Linked DNA regions of Homo sapiens: region 1 is linked to region 2. The links are contacts of gene promoters, found by promoter capture Hi-C in blood cells and fetal thymus (Javierre and others, 2016). All regions are on one chromosome and are shown on one strand. Each heading gives the region's core, a stretch centred on a gene start or on the middle of the fragment in contact. The rest is flanking DNA. Distances are from core to core; before and after follow the strand shown. Region 1 has its middle 240 kb from the start of BCL2. Region 2 holds the start of PIGN (phosphatidylinositol glycan anchor biosynthesis class N).

Region 1 (5,960 bases), core at 2,744-5,243, 890 kb before region 2:
ATTCATTTATTCACTGATGAACAAATATTTATTATTTGATAAATATGGTTCACTGTGCTGAGGGAATGACAGGGAACAAAACAGGCAAAGTCCTTGCCCTCATAGACACTGCCTTCTGGAAGAGGGAGGGAGACAGAACACAGTAAGTTGATCATATATCAGGTAATGATAAGAGCTAAGCAGAACAATGAAAGAGATTGAGGAGACAGAGCTTTAAGAGAGGGTGGTCAGGCGGGGATGTGCACTCATTTGTCTGAGAAACAGCATGGAACCTGTAAGACTGAGTAGAGTGTGTAACAGGGAGGGTGGTAGGAAATGCGATTAGAGAAGTAGTGATGGCCTGTCTCATGCAGGGCCTGTGGCTGTAGTAAGAATTCCATAAAACTAGTAAAACCTGGATGCCAAAACCAAACAAGGGGAAGATAAGAAAGGAAAATCACAAGCCAATCTCAATCACAGACATTATCAAAGTCTTAACATAATATTAGCAAACGAAATCCAGAGATCTATTTTTAAAAAATCATTTAGGATTTATCCCTAGAATGCAAGGATGGTTCAGGATGAAAAGATAATCAAATGATATTTACCACTTTAAAAGATTAAGAAAGAAGATCATATGATTGTTTCAATAGTTACAGATAAAGCATTTGATAAATTCAACACTAACTCATGATTTAAAAAAAAAAAACAACATAGTAAACTAGGATTAGAAGTGAATAAACTTCCTTAACCTGAGAAAGTATGTACAAAAAACATCCTTACAGAAGAATTGTTGGAAGCATGCCCTATAAAATCAAGAACGGGACAAAGATGTTCACTCTCAGTACTTCCATTCAACATTTTCCTGGAGGCTAGTAAGACAAGAGAAGACATAAAGATTGATGCACTGAATGGATGTGTCTGTGTCTGTATCAGCTTGGCATCATCACCACTTCCTCCTACAGTCTTCTCTGAATTGTGTAAGGTAGAAGCCTGAAACTGCATTTCCCAGCATCCCCTTCTCTGTATTACTCTGTGTTAAAGTTTGCAGTCCCATGAAATCTGATTGGTAGGGGAAGAGTTGAGGCTATCAGTCTCCAAATAAGGATGTAACCAGGTGTTGGGGCAGACCTGATATGCCCAGTGAATACTTGAGAACCACCTGCTTCATTGCTGCATGCTTAGACAGCTGATGGACGCTTCTCAAAGATTCTTAGGATTGCAGCTGTTTCCTGTTAAGAACCACCAATTTGGTGCATTGCAGTAATCTAATTGTACATCCAGTTTGGCATACAATAAGGACAAAAAGAATAGAACAAAATTTTTAAATATTGGTTTTGTTCTTGTGAAACTATTATATGTATTTTGTAGAATGAAACAAATATGTAATTATGCTAATGTCATTAGAAACCAGATTTTCAATGTGAGAGAAAAAGAGATCCAAATACAAACCAAAGAATAAAACCCTGTGATCTTAAATTTAAAATGGAAATTTGAGTATCCTATGATGATTTTTCTCTTTAAAAATTAATTTTTTAGGAAACATAAATGAAAAAATACCTAGAAGTGAAGTCACCTGGAAATAGAATGATCAACCCAGTATCACGGAGTACCCTTAAATATCCATCAGGGAAATGCAAATCAAACCACAACGAAATATCATTTCACAGCCACTAAGATGATTATAGTAAAAAAGACAAATATAGCAAGCATTGGTGAGGATGTTGAAAAATTAGAACCCTCTTACACTGACATGGTACAGTCATTCGGAAACAGTCTTCAGTTCCTCAAAAGCTTAAACATAAAGTTACCAAATGACCTAGCAATTCTACTCCTCATATATACTCACGCCAAATGAATCACATGTCCACAAAAACTTGCACACAAATGTTCATAGCAGCATTATTTATAATAGCCCAAACTGGAAACTACCCAAGTATGCATCAACTGATAACTGAGTAAGTAAAGTTGATTGTGATGATAGGTTGTACAACTGTATTAGTCCGTTTTCACACTGCTGATAAAGACATACCTGAGATGGGGTAACTTATTTAAAAAAAGAGGTTTAATTGACTCAAAATTCAACATAGCTGGGGGGACCTCACAATCATGGCGGAAGGTAAGGAGGAGCAAAGCCATATCTTACATGGTGGCAGGCAAACAGAATGAAAGCCAAGCGAAAAGATGGTTATAAACCATCTGATCTCATGAAACTTATTCACTACCACAAGAACAGTATGGGGAAAACTGCCCCTATGATTCAGTTATCTCCTACTGGGTCCCTCCCACAATACGTGAGAATTATGGGAGCTACAATTCAAGATGAGATATGAGTAGGGACAGCCAAACCATATCAACAACTCTGTGAATATATTAGAAGCCATTGAGTTATACACTTTAAATGGATGAGTTGTATAGGGTGTGAAATATATCTCAATGAAGCTGTTAAAAATAATACAGTATTTTAAAACTGATTATTAATGAAAGCACAGAAAAATACCAAGACTTAGGGTACAGCAATAGTTAAGGGAAATATTTATAGCACTACAAATATTTTTAGAACCATAAGAAAGATGAAATAAATGAACTCATGTCAATTCAAGAAGATAGAAAAAGAACAACGAGTTTAGGCAAAAAAAATGTGATGGAAAGAAATATTAAAGATAAAAACAAAAAAATAAGAAAAGGAAACAAAAGTAAAATAGAAATGACAGAATGAGTCTTAGAAAAGAAAAATAATGCTAATAAAATAAATCCCCATTAAGGCTGATAAATAAAGAAAAATGAACAAATAAACATTAGGAATAGAAAATATAATGTAACCACATATGCAGCAGAAACAAAATCATAAGGGAATCTGTGGCACAATTTTATGTCTATTCTGAAATTGGCTGAATTTTAAAATAGAAAAACTGAATAAAACAATTAGCATTAAAGAAATTGATTTGACAATCAAATATACCTGCCCTCAAGCCACCTCCCCAAAAAGACACTAGTCTTAGCTGATTTCAGCAGTGAATTTCATCAAACCTTTAAGGAAAAGGTCATTGCTATCTTATATAAGCTTCCCAGACAACAGAAAAGGACAGTAGGCCACTGAGTTTAGATAGTGTAGAATTAACACCAAAATGAAACAAGGACAGTACAAGAGACAGAAACTATAGGTTATCTCACTTATAATGTAGATTAAAATTCCTGAATAAATATTAGCAAATGGAATCCAACCAGAGTATTTTTTTTTTAACGATCACAACTAATTTTGATGTTTCCCAGGAAGGTAAGAATGTCAGAAATATCCATCAGGAGAACTTTACAACATTTATAGATCAAAAAGAAATAAAATGACACATTTTATTCTATAAATTCAACACCTTCTCTTATCTAAAAGAAAAACTCTTAGGAAGCTAGAAATGGAAGAGAACTTCCTTAATTTGATGAAGGGTTTTTATCAAAAACCTAAAGCAATCATATCACATCTTTCTGGATTATCCCTATTAAAACCAAGAAAAGGCAAGCAGGGCAGCCATCACCACCCCAGTCAACTTTACACAGAAAATACTAGCGAATGCAGTAAGCAACAAATAAATAAAATGCATAAGGTTTGGAAAGGAAGTGAAAATTTATTATTTTTAGGCATAGAAAATGCATAGATGGGTGGCGCACGGAGACTTATGACTGTAATCCCAGCATTTTGAGAGGGCGAGGCAGGTGGATCACCTGAGGTCGGGAGTTTGAGACCAGCCTGACCAACATGGTGAAACCCCATCTCTACTAAAAATACAAAAAAATTAGCCAGGTGTGGTGGCACGTGTCTGTAACCCCAGCTACTCAGGAGGCTGAGGCAGGAGAATCACTTGAACTGGGAGGCAGAGGTTGCAGTGAGCCAAGATCGAACCATTGCACTCCAGCCTGAGCAACAAGAGCAAAACTCTGTCTCAAAAAAATAAATAAATAAAATAAAATAAGAAAGAAAGAACAAAGAAAATGCATAGATATCAACAGAAAATCTTTTAGAACTAAAAAAGGATTCAGCAAGGCTACTGATTACAAGATCAACATGCAAAATTCAATAACTTTTGAATGTGAACAATAACAAATGGGAAAAAATTGGAAAAAAAAAAAGCCAGCTCACAATAGCAGCAAAACTATAAAGGACCTAAAGAATATACATTACGTACCATTTTTAAGAGCTTTATGGGAAAAAATTATAGTTTTATTAAAGGATATAAAAGAAGATCTGAATAATGGGTAAGAGGTCTCAAAAGCATAAACATGTCAATTCTGCCCAAATTATCTATAAATTTAAGTAAATTCCAAATAAAATCTCAGCAGAACTTTTCTGTTCATTTGTAACGTGATTCTAAAATTCATATGGAAAAGTGAATTATCATTGCCAAGATAATTTCGAAAAATAAGAACAATGGGTGGGCAGGAGCAGTTGGCCTGCGGATTCTGAAACATTCTAGACAGTCACAGAAATTAAAATATAGTTGTCTGAGCAGAGGAAGAGGCAGCGGACAGAATAGAGAGCCTGGTGCAAATCCATGTTCATGCAGGATTCACATGTAGGGGCTACGTGGGATGTGGAATATGATAGCGGTGGCACTAGAGATCAGCAGGGAAAGATGAGCTTGTGCCATCATTGATGATGGAAGCATTGGCTTTTCATATAAAAGACTCCTACACTAATTATACAAAAATTAATTCCAGAAGAATTAAAGACCTCAGCACGAAAAATCGCAACTAAACACTACTGAGACGTGAGACCTCAACCACATCTTGAATGCAAAATTTCATCGAATGTGAATATCATAATTCTATGTATGGAAAATTTTTAAATAAGACAAAGCATAACTGTATGTTGTTCATGAAGATATTTTTTAGTTTAGTTTCTTTTATTTTTATTTTTTTATTTTTAAGTTTGAAGAATATCTTTATGGCCCAAAGTGAATCTGCCAAGCTTTTTAGGCCACCTTGCGTGCATTTTAGTTGTTTCCCCAAGGGAGAATCTGAATCGGTGCCTTCCCTGACTCTTTCCCAGCCAAAATGCGGGCACGTGACCAGGCCTGCCAATCAGACACGGGGGCCTCGGGCCGCGGGAGGGAGCTGGCTGGCTGCGCGTCTCCGGGAGCCGCTGTCATTTCAGTGGCGCATTCTGGGCAAAGGCGGTGTGGTCCCGGGGTGGGCAGCAGATTCCGGAAAGGGTCAGTTGGTTCTGGGAGTGTCCCTTTCATTGTCTCAGGCCTCTTTTCCCATCTGTCCCAAACGTTGTGTGAACTCCCTTCTGTCTCTCCTAAGTTCTTTTCTGCTTAAACTGGTCAGACCGGATTCTACTGCTTACAAATGACAACTGTAACTGACACGCAACCCTGCAGAACAGAAAACATCTTTATAACAAAACATACCCCATCAACGTTAGAGAGGAAAAAACAGGCCTCGAGAAGGTATTTGCAGGATCTATAACAAAGGAATTAATAAAGATATATACTGTATTTATCTTATCAGAGAATTTATCTTTAATGGAGAAAACTCGGATAAATAAAGAACAGAAGCACGCCCATAGGAAAGTGGAGGGAAGGAGAACAGGAAGTCCTCAGAAGCAGAAATCCAAAGGTCTTTATTATATATATTTGTTCTTATTTTTACAATTTACATAAGTAAAATTATGGCATTCATATTCCATACATTCCTTCACACAAGATAAGCGTACGTGAGACCTCAACCACATCTTCAGTGCAAAACTTCATGGAATGTGAATATCATAATTCTACTTATGTAAACATTTTAAATAAGAAAAAGTATAACTGTATGTTGTTTATGAAGTTTTTTTTTTTTTTTTTTTTTTTTTTTTTTTTTTTGAGACGGAGTCTCGCTCTGTCGCCCAGGCTGGAATGCAGTGGCGCGATCTCCGCTCACTGCAAGCTCCGCCTCCCGGGTTCACGCCATTCTCCTGCCTCAGCCTCCCGAGTAGCTGGGACTAC
Region 2 (5,820 bases), core at 83-2,582:
GATTCAGGTAACTGGAGAAAAAGGAAAATGCTTAAAGCAATAAACTAGTATAAAAGGGAACCTTCTGGAGTCCCGTAATAGCCAGTGAACTAGAAACTCTTGATATTTTATAGATACTGACACCAGTAGGGGAGCCAGGAGCCAAGTGCAACACCAGCCAAGGGTTGGAAGCAGGCAGAGAGAACAGTCATTGCCTGATCCTCTTGCTTCCACCGCAAAAGAGCGCCCCCACCCCAATACTCTCGTTCCTTAAAATGTCCCTATCGGGACCCACGCAGAAATACCCCCTCTCCCCTACAGTAACTCCGTACAATCCCAAATACCCTGCCGGAGTGTGACAGGCTGCGTCCACTTACTGAGCTGTCCCCCGCCCGACGCTGTACTCGGTTCCCGACCTCCAGCGCCCCCAACGCCGGCTGCTCCAGGGACCCCTGGCGCCCCCATCCCCGGCGGGGTTCCACTTTGCCTCTCGAAGTTGCCTGGATTGGAGAAGTAGTCGCGCAGCCGAGGCAGCTCCCGGCCACTCTCTAACAGCTCGGTATGCAGCTCCAGGGCGGTCAGCAAGTATTGATCGCGCAACAGCTGAGCAGCGATCGCATCAATTGATAATCGGGCCGGGGTCTCCCCGGTGCCCCCCAGGGCCACTGCAGCCGCCGACGCCTCCCCAGGGAGCCCTGGCCGCGCACTGCTTCCTAAGGCCACGGGATCCTGTGGCGACAGCGAGCCCGCAGAGCCAGGATCTAGGCCACTTCCGGCGCCCAGCCGAAGTACTGCCCGCCGTTCCTCTGTTGCAGCTACCTCGTCATCGTCCTCATCCGAATCACTGAGAAATGGATTCACGCCGCCACCACTGCCACTACCTCCAGGCGCCATCGCCGCCATCTTATCCTGTCAGGAGTGTGGGCGCCTCCCTGACTGGTTCCGACGGGCCGCAGCCCGAATCCTCTAGGCCTCAGGGGACACAGCGCACCTCCACAGCCCCGGCCTGACCACGTCCTGCCTCCCGACTTAGAGACAAGGAGTACGCTCCAAGGCAGGAGATCCGGATGCAGCTGCACCTGATGCCTCAGCCTCTGCTGCACCAGCAGCCCGGCTCTGCAGGCGTCTTCCTGGTCTCCAGTCTCGCGAGAACTGGAGCGTGCCCCTGCCCCTCTCCCCGATCTAGCCCCGCCCCAGCCCCGCCCCAGCCCACTTCAGCTCCGCCCATTCCCAGCGCCAGATAGCAAAGATTGAAGGCCCCGCTCTCCGCTCAAAAGCAAAACTCCACCCACGACTCCTCCATGATTGGTCAGAGAAGGAAGGCGTGGAGCGGACTGACGGGAGACTGGCCCGAGAATTATCGCGATAGCAGCAGCGGCCGGGCAGGTATTGGGGGCGTTCCGGAATTGAGGGGTGGTTGTAGTGGTGGCTTAGGAATACCCTCCCGGCTATCGCTTCAGTGGGTAGAGGGGACCACTGCCCGAGAGCTTTAATGGAGCTGGGTCCTGCCTTCGCGCTGAGGAGCCCTCGTTTTCGAGATCAGGCCTGACCGGGATAAGCTCCAGGTAAAGTTCAGGGACCAGTGCGCGGAGGGTGTCGGCGCCCAAACTGTGGTGTCGCGCCCGCGGACGCGCTGTTTCCCTACTGCGCTGCACTTTTTCTCGCTATTTGCTGCCAGTGGTGACATTTTGTCCCCATGGATAGCAAGTGCCCAGGCCTGTAGTCGGAATGTGACTTCCTTTCTTTTCCCTTCTCTGCCACATGCTTGCACACTCGGGAGGCCTAGCGACAGCACGACTTCTCAGCCCCGGAGGTGGTCCTGCCTGTGGGTGGGGACGGGGGCTGGAGAGACTAAACGGAAAAGGGAACGCTGAGGTTGGCATTTGCCTGGATCTGGGAACATCGTCGAGTTGGAAAACAAATTGTTAGGTACTCAATAAACGCTTAGGATTTAATACACGATTTACACAACAGGGACCCTTCAGAATATCTAATGCTGTCTCACCAGTAGACAGATAAGTAAACTTAAGCCAAGAGTGGTTGTTATAAAATCAGCTCCACGCCGGGCGCGGTGGCTCACGCCTGTAATCCCAGCACTTTGGGAGGCCGAGCCGGGCGGATCACGAGGTCGGGAGTTCGAGACCAGCCTGACCAACATGGTGAAACCCCTTCTCTACTAAAAACACAAAAATTAGTTGGGCGTGGTGGCGCAAGCCTGCAATCCCAGCTACTCAGGAGGCTGAGGCAGGAGAATCGCTTGAACCCCGGAGGCGAAGATTGCAGTGAGCCGAGGTCGCGCCACTGCACTCCAGCCTGGGCGACAGAACGAGACTCCGTCTCAAAAAAAAAAAAAAAAAAAAAAAAAAATCAATTCCGCTAATAAGGAGTCAAAGGAATTAACATCATTTCTCTTATGTCCCAAACGATTCTTTATCCACTGTCTCCTGCAACATTTCTGACTCGTTCATGCAGGCTAGAATCAAGGTTTTGGAACTTAGAACTATTTTAAAAGTTGAATGCTTCAGAGAGTTTTGATTTTTTTGATGAAATGTTAGCATATAAAGTACATATCCTAAGTTTAGAAGATCAACGTTTATCTTTTATGTCATTCCTTGATTATGATCTGAAAAGGTAAAGGAATTTCCAGTCAATACAATTAGACTGCTATTTCTTATGGCTCCTATTTTTTTCACACACAAATGACCACTTTTCCAGGCTTTAGATTTCCTTTCTTAGTGTACAGGTAAGTGACATATTACATTCAGTGTGTAGTAAACATTCCACAGTAAAGTATCTCCCGTTAGCTCCATGGAAAAATTAAAATAGACGATTCTTACATAACCTTAGGTCAGGTTATTGGTTTACATGTAAAAGTATGCCAACAGTTAAGAGTAGGCTTTAATTTCAATATACCCAGGCTCAATAAACTAAAATTTTCATTTGAATGGGGATTTGGGTTTTTAAAATTTTATTTTTGCTAGAAGTTTAAAAAAAAAGTACCAAGAATTTAAACTATTTTTTTATAGGACATTAGTTCCCAATGTTTTAATGATAAATAGTTTTCTGTGCCATATATTAAAAGTAAAACATGGGGAAAAAAATCCCCCCAAATAGAATTGAAATGGCAAATACTGTATCCTGTTAGAGATTTCTTAGCAAAAGGGATTGCTGATCCGTATTTTAGTTGGATTTTCCAGAGAGATTAAAATGGAACCAATTTCTGGAATCCAGGAATGGAGGATTAGTGAATGGCATGGGAAGGGCATGATTAGAAATGGATTGTTTATATACAATATTTCCATCTCCATGATTGGGAAATTGAGAAATCTCCTGCATTTAGGATTCCTGAAGAGGATTATGCTTATAAGATAGAAAAGCTTAAGTTCAGATCCCAATTCTACTCATTATTTATTGTGAGACCTTGAAAAAGTTACCTAACTTCTCAGCCTCACTTGCATTCGTCTATCAAAGGGGATAAGGAAAGTACACAGAATTGAGAATGTTCTTGTCCCAGTGCCTGGTACCTGCTACACAATAACTATTACTGTGGTCACTTATTAATTATTGAAATATTAGTATGTGTTGAGAACATTTGACAAGTGTTTAAAAATAAAACTAATATCAATCGTTTTGGCAGTGCAAGCCTGAAAAAGCAATTAAGTCAGTAGGGCTGAAGGGAGTATCTTTAATTTGGGGTCTCAGTTCTAAAACACAAGTTGAAAATAGATTTAAAATGTTTCCTCAGAGTTGTAAGAACTTGCATGTAGAGGAATTCTTCCCATACAAATCTGTGGTTTTCTGCTTCTATTTCTGCCTCCTATCCTATAACCATGAACTTGTGTGTTTGATCTTGTAAGCCCATTAGAAATCAACTGCCCAGTCTTCCCAGTATGTACTTTTCTTTTCCACAATACACAGAGGTTTGGTTATTCGTGAATAATGTATAAGTAACACACACTGGAATATTAAAAATTACCGATCACTACTTATAATAATGTATTATTAATAGTGTTGGGAAATTTCCTTTCTACTTAGTAAGATTTTCATTAATCTAGGCCCTTACAACTAATGTTTCATCTGACTAATGATAGTTATTAAAGCTTGTGCCTTAGCAATGAAGATGTAAAAGATGCCTTTTTTCAAAGCACGTCAATCATTTTAGTATTTAAAAAATTATTTTAGGTTTTAATAGTCTTAAAAGAACCACAAGTAATATTCTGAATGCAAGTTTTGGTTGACTTGAGGTTTTAGTAATACCTCATGTTTTATTGTTTTTCAGTGTGTGGTAAACATCCACAGATAAACTAGATAACTTGTATTGGTACATGCATATATCTTTTTAAAATTTTAATAGTTATGTGTTTGTTTTGGAGGTATTTCTTTTTCAATAAATCTGAATAAATTGTGATTTTCTTTAAAGAGAAGTATTAAGTAATATTTAGTATTAAGCAATTAAACTAATTAAAATAAGTAGTTAGTGAATGCTGATATTTTGTAATAACTGCAATTTTATTTACATTAATAGTAAATTACTTTATCATAAAAGGTTTAGTTTTTTTTTTTTTAAAGTATTTTCAGTCTTCACATCTTGTTCTGGAGGAACAAAAACAGAAGCAGGGCATCCTCTAGTGGCTGTAGTGCATATTGCATTTACCCTTGAAATGATAATTCTAAATAATTTATTCAGCAAACATTTGAGTCCTTACTAAGTGCATAAGACTCTGATGGGTGTTGGAGATGCCCCGTCCTGCTGTCATGGAATTGTGGTGAAGTGACAGAGACAGACATTAATTCAAATAGTCGTAGACAAAGCTATGTAATTACAAACTGAAGTAAAAGTTTTCGTTTCTGACTTCACCTGCATAGTCCCTGAGGAAGTGATGCTTGAAATGGAATGTTAGGAGAGAGTGGAAGATAGGTTGCAAGTACATTCTGCAGAGAGGAATTGAGCCTACAAAGGTCTTATAGCAGTGGGATACTTGAATAAAAGAAGGGGCCAGTGATGTGAGATGTTACAAAGTAAAGGGGAGTGCTATGAGACAGGTTTAGAAAAGAAGGCAGAGGCTAGTCTATAAAAGACCTTGTTAGTCACATTAAGGATTTTAGTCTAGATTAGTAGGTGAAAAGGCACTGGAGAGTTTTTTTTTTCCAGCTGTGACTTCATTTTTAAATTTATTTTTTAATATACGATTTTATGTATTCATTGTGTACATGATGTTCTTCAGTTTATATACATTGTGAAATGCTCAAATCTAGCTAAGTAACAAATGCATTACCTTACACATAGTTATCATTTTTGTGATGAGAAATTTGAACATCTACCCTTTTAGCAGTTTTCAAGAATACAATATATCATCATTAACTAGAGTCACCATGCTGTACAACAGAGCTCTTGAACTTATTCCTTCTATCTAACTCTAATATGAATGCTTTGATCAGTATCTCTACAATTGCCCCCCGCTGTGGAACTACCCCAGCCTCTGGTTACCACCATTCTGCTTCTAATTCAGTGGGGTCAACTTTCTTAAGTTCCACATAGGAGTGAAATCATGCAGTATTTGTGTTTCTGCACCTGGCTTATTTCACTTAGCATACCAGGCTTCAGGAACATCCGTGTTGTTGCAAACGTGTCTTTTGACTTTAAAGACAGTGAATGCTTCACAGAAGGCACTGGAGAGTTTTATACAAGGGGTAAGATGTTCAGATTTTCTTTTGAAAAAAGAAAAGCAAGTAATACTCTGGCTACATGGCAAGAAATGGATCAGAGAAGGGTTAGAGTATATAGGGGTGACCTATTCCTGCATTGCAGTAGTTCGCATAAGAGATGGTATACATCTTAAA

What was found. The method cuts DNA at HindIII sites, captures the fragments that hold promoters and counts their contacts. A CHiCAGO score of 5 or more calls a contact.
Region 1: a contact is called between a fragment that was not itself captured here and the fragment with the promoter of PIGN in region 2, in 1 of 17 cell types (fetal thymus). The highest score is 5.3, in fetal thymus.

What each region holds. Positions count from the first base shown.
Region 1 is chr18:63,074,401-63,080,360 of GRCh38, reverse strand. No RefSeq gene overlaps it. Among named protein-coding and RNA genes, the nearest start is that of BCL2, 240 kb to the left of the region's middle. The HindIII fragment of the contact is 1,896 bases long and covers 3,046-4,941 here.
Region 2 is chr18:62,182,568-62,188,387 of GRCh38, reverse strand. It overlaps PIGN (phosphatidylinositol glycan anchor biosynthesis class N), which reads left to right and starts at 1,332. Exons shown (of 31, transcript NM_176787.5): 1 at 1,332-1,544. RELCH (RAB11 binding and LisH domain, coiled-coil and HEAT repeat containing) reads right to left here and starts at 1,133. Exons shown (of 29, transcript NM_001346231.2): 1 at 357-1,133. The coding sequence starts at 882. RefSeq lists silencers at 448-667, 1,618-1,830 and an enhancer at 818-1,027. The HindIII fragment of the contact is 4,021 bases long and covers 1-3,358 here.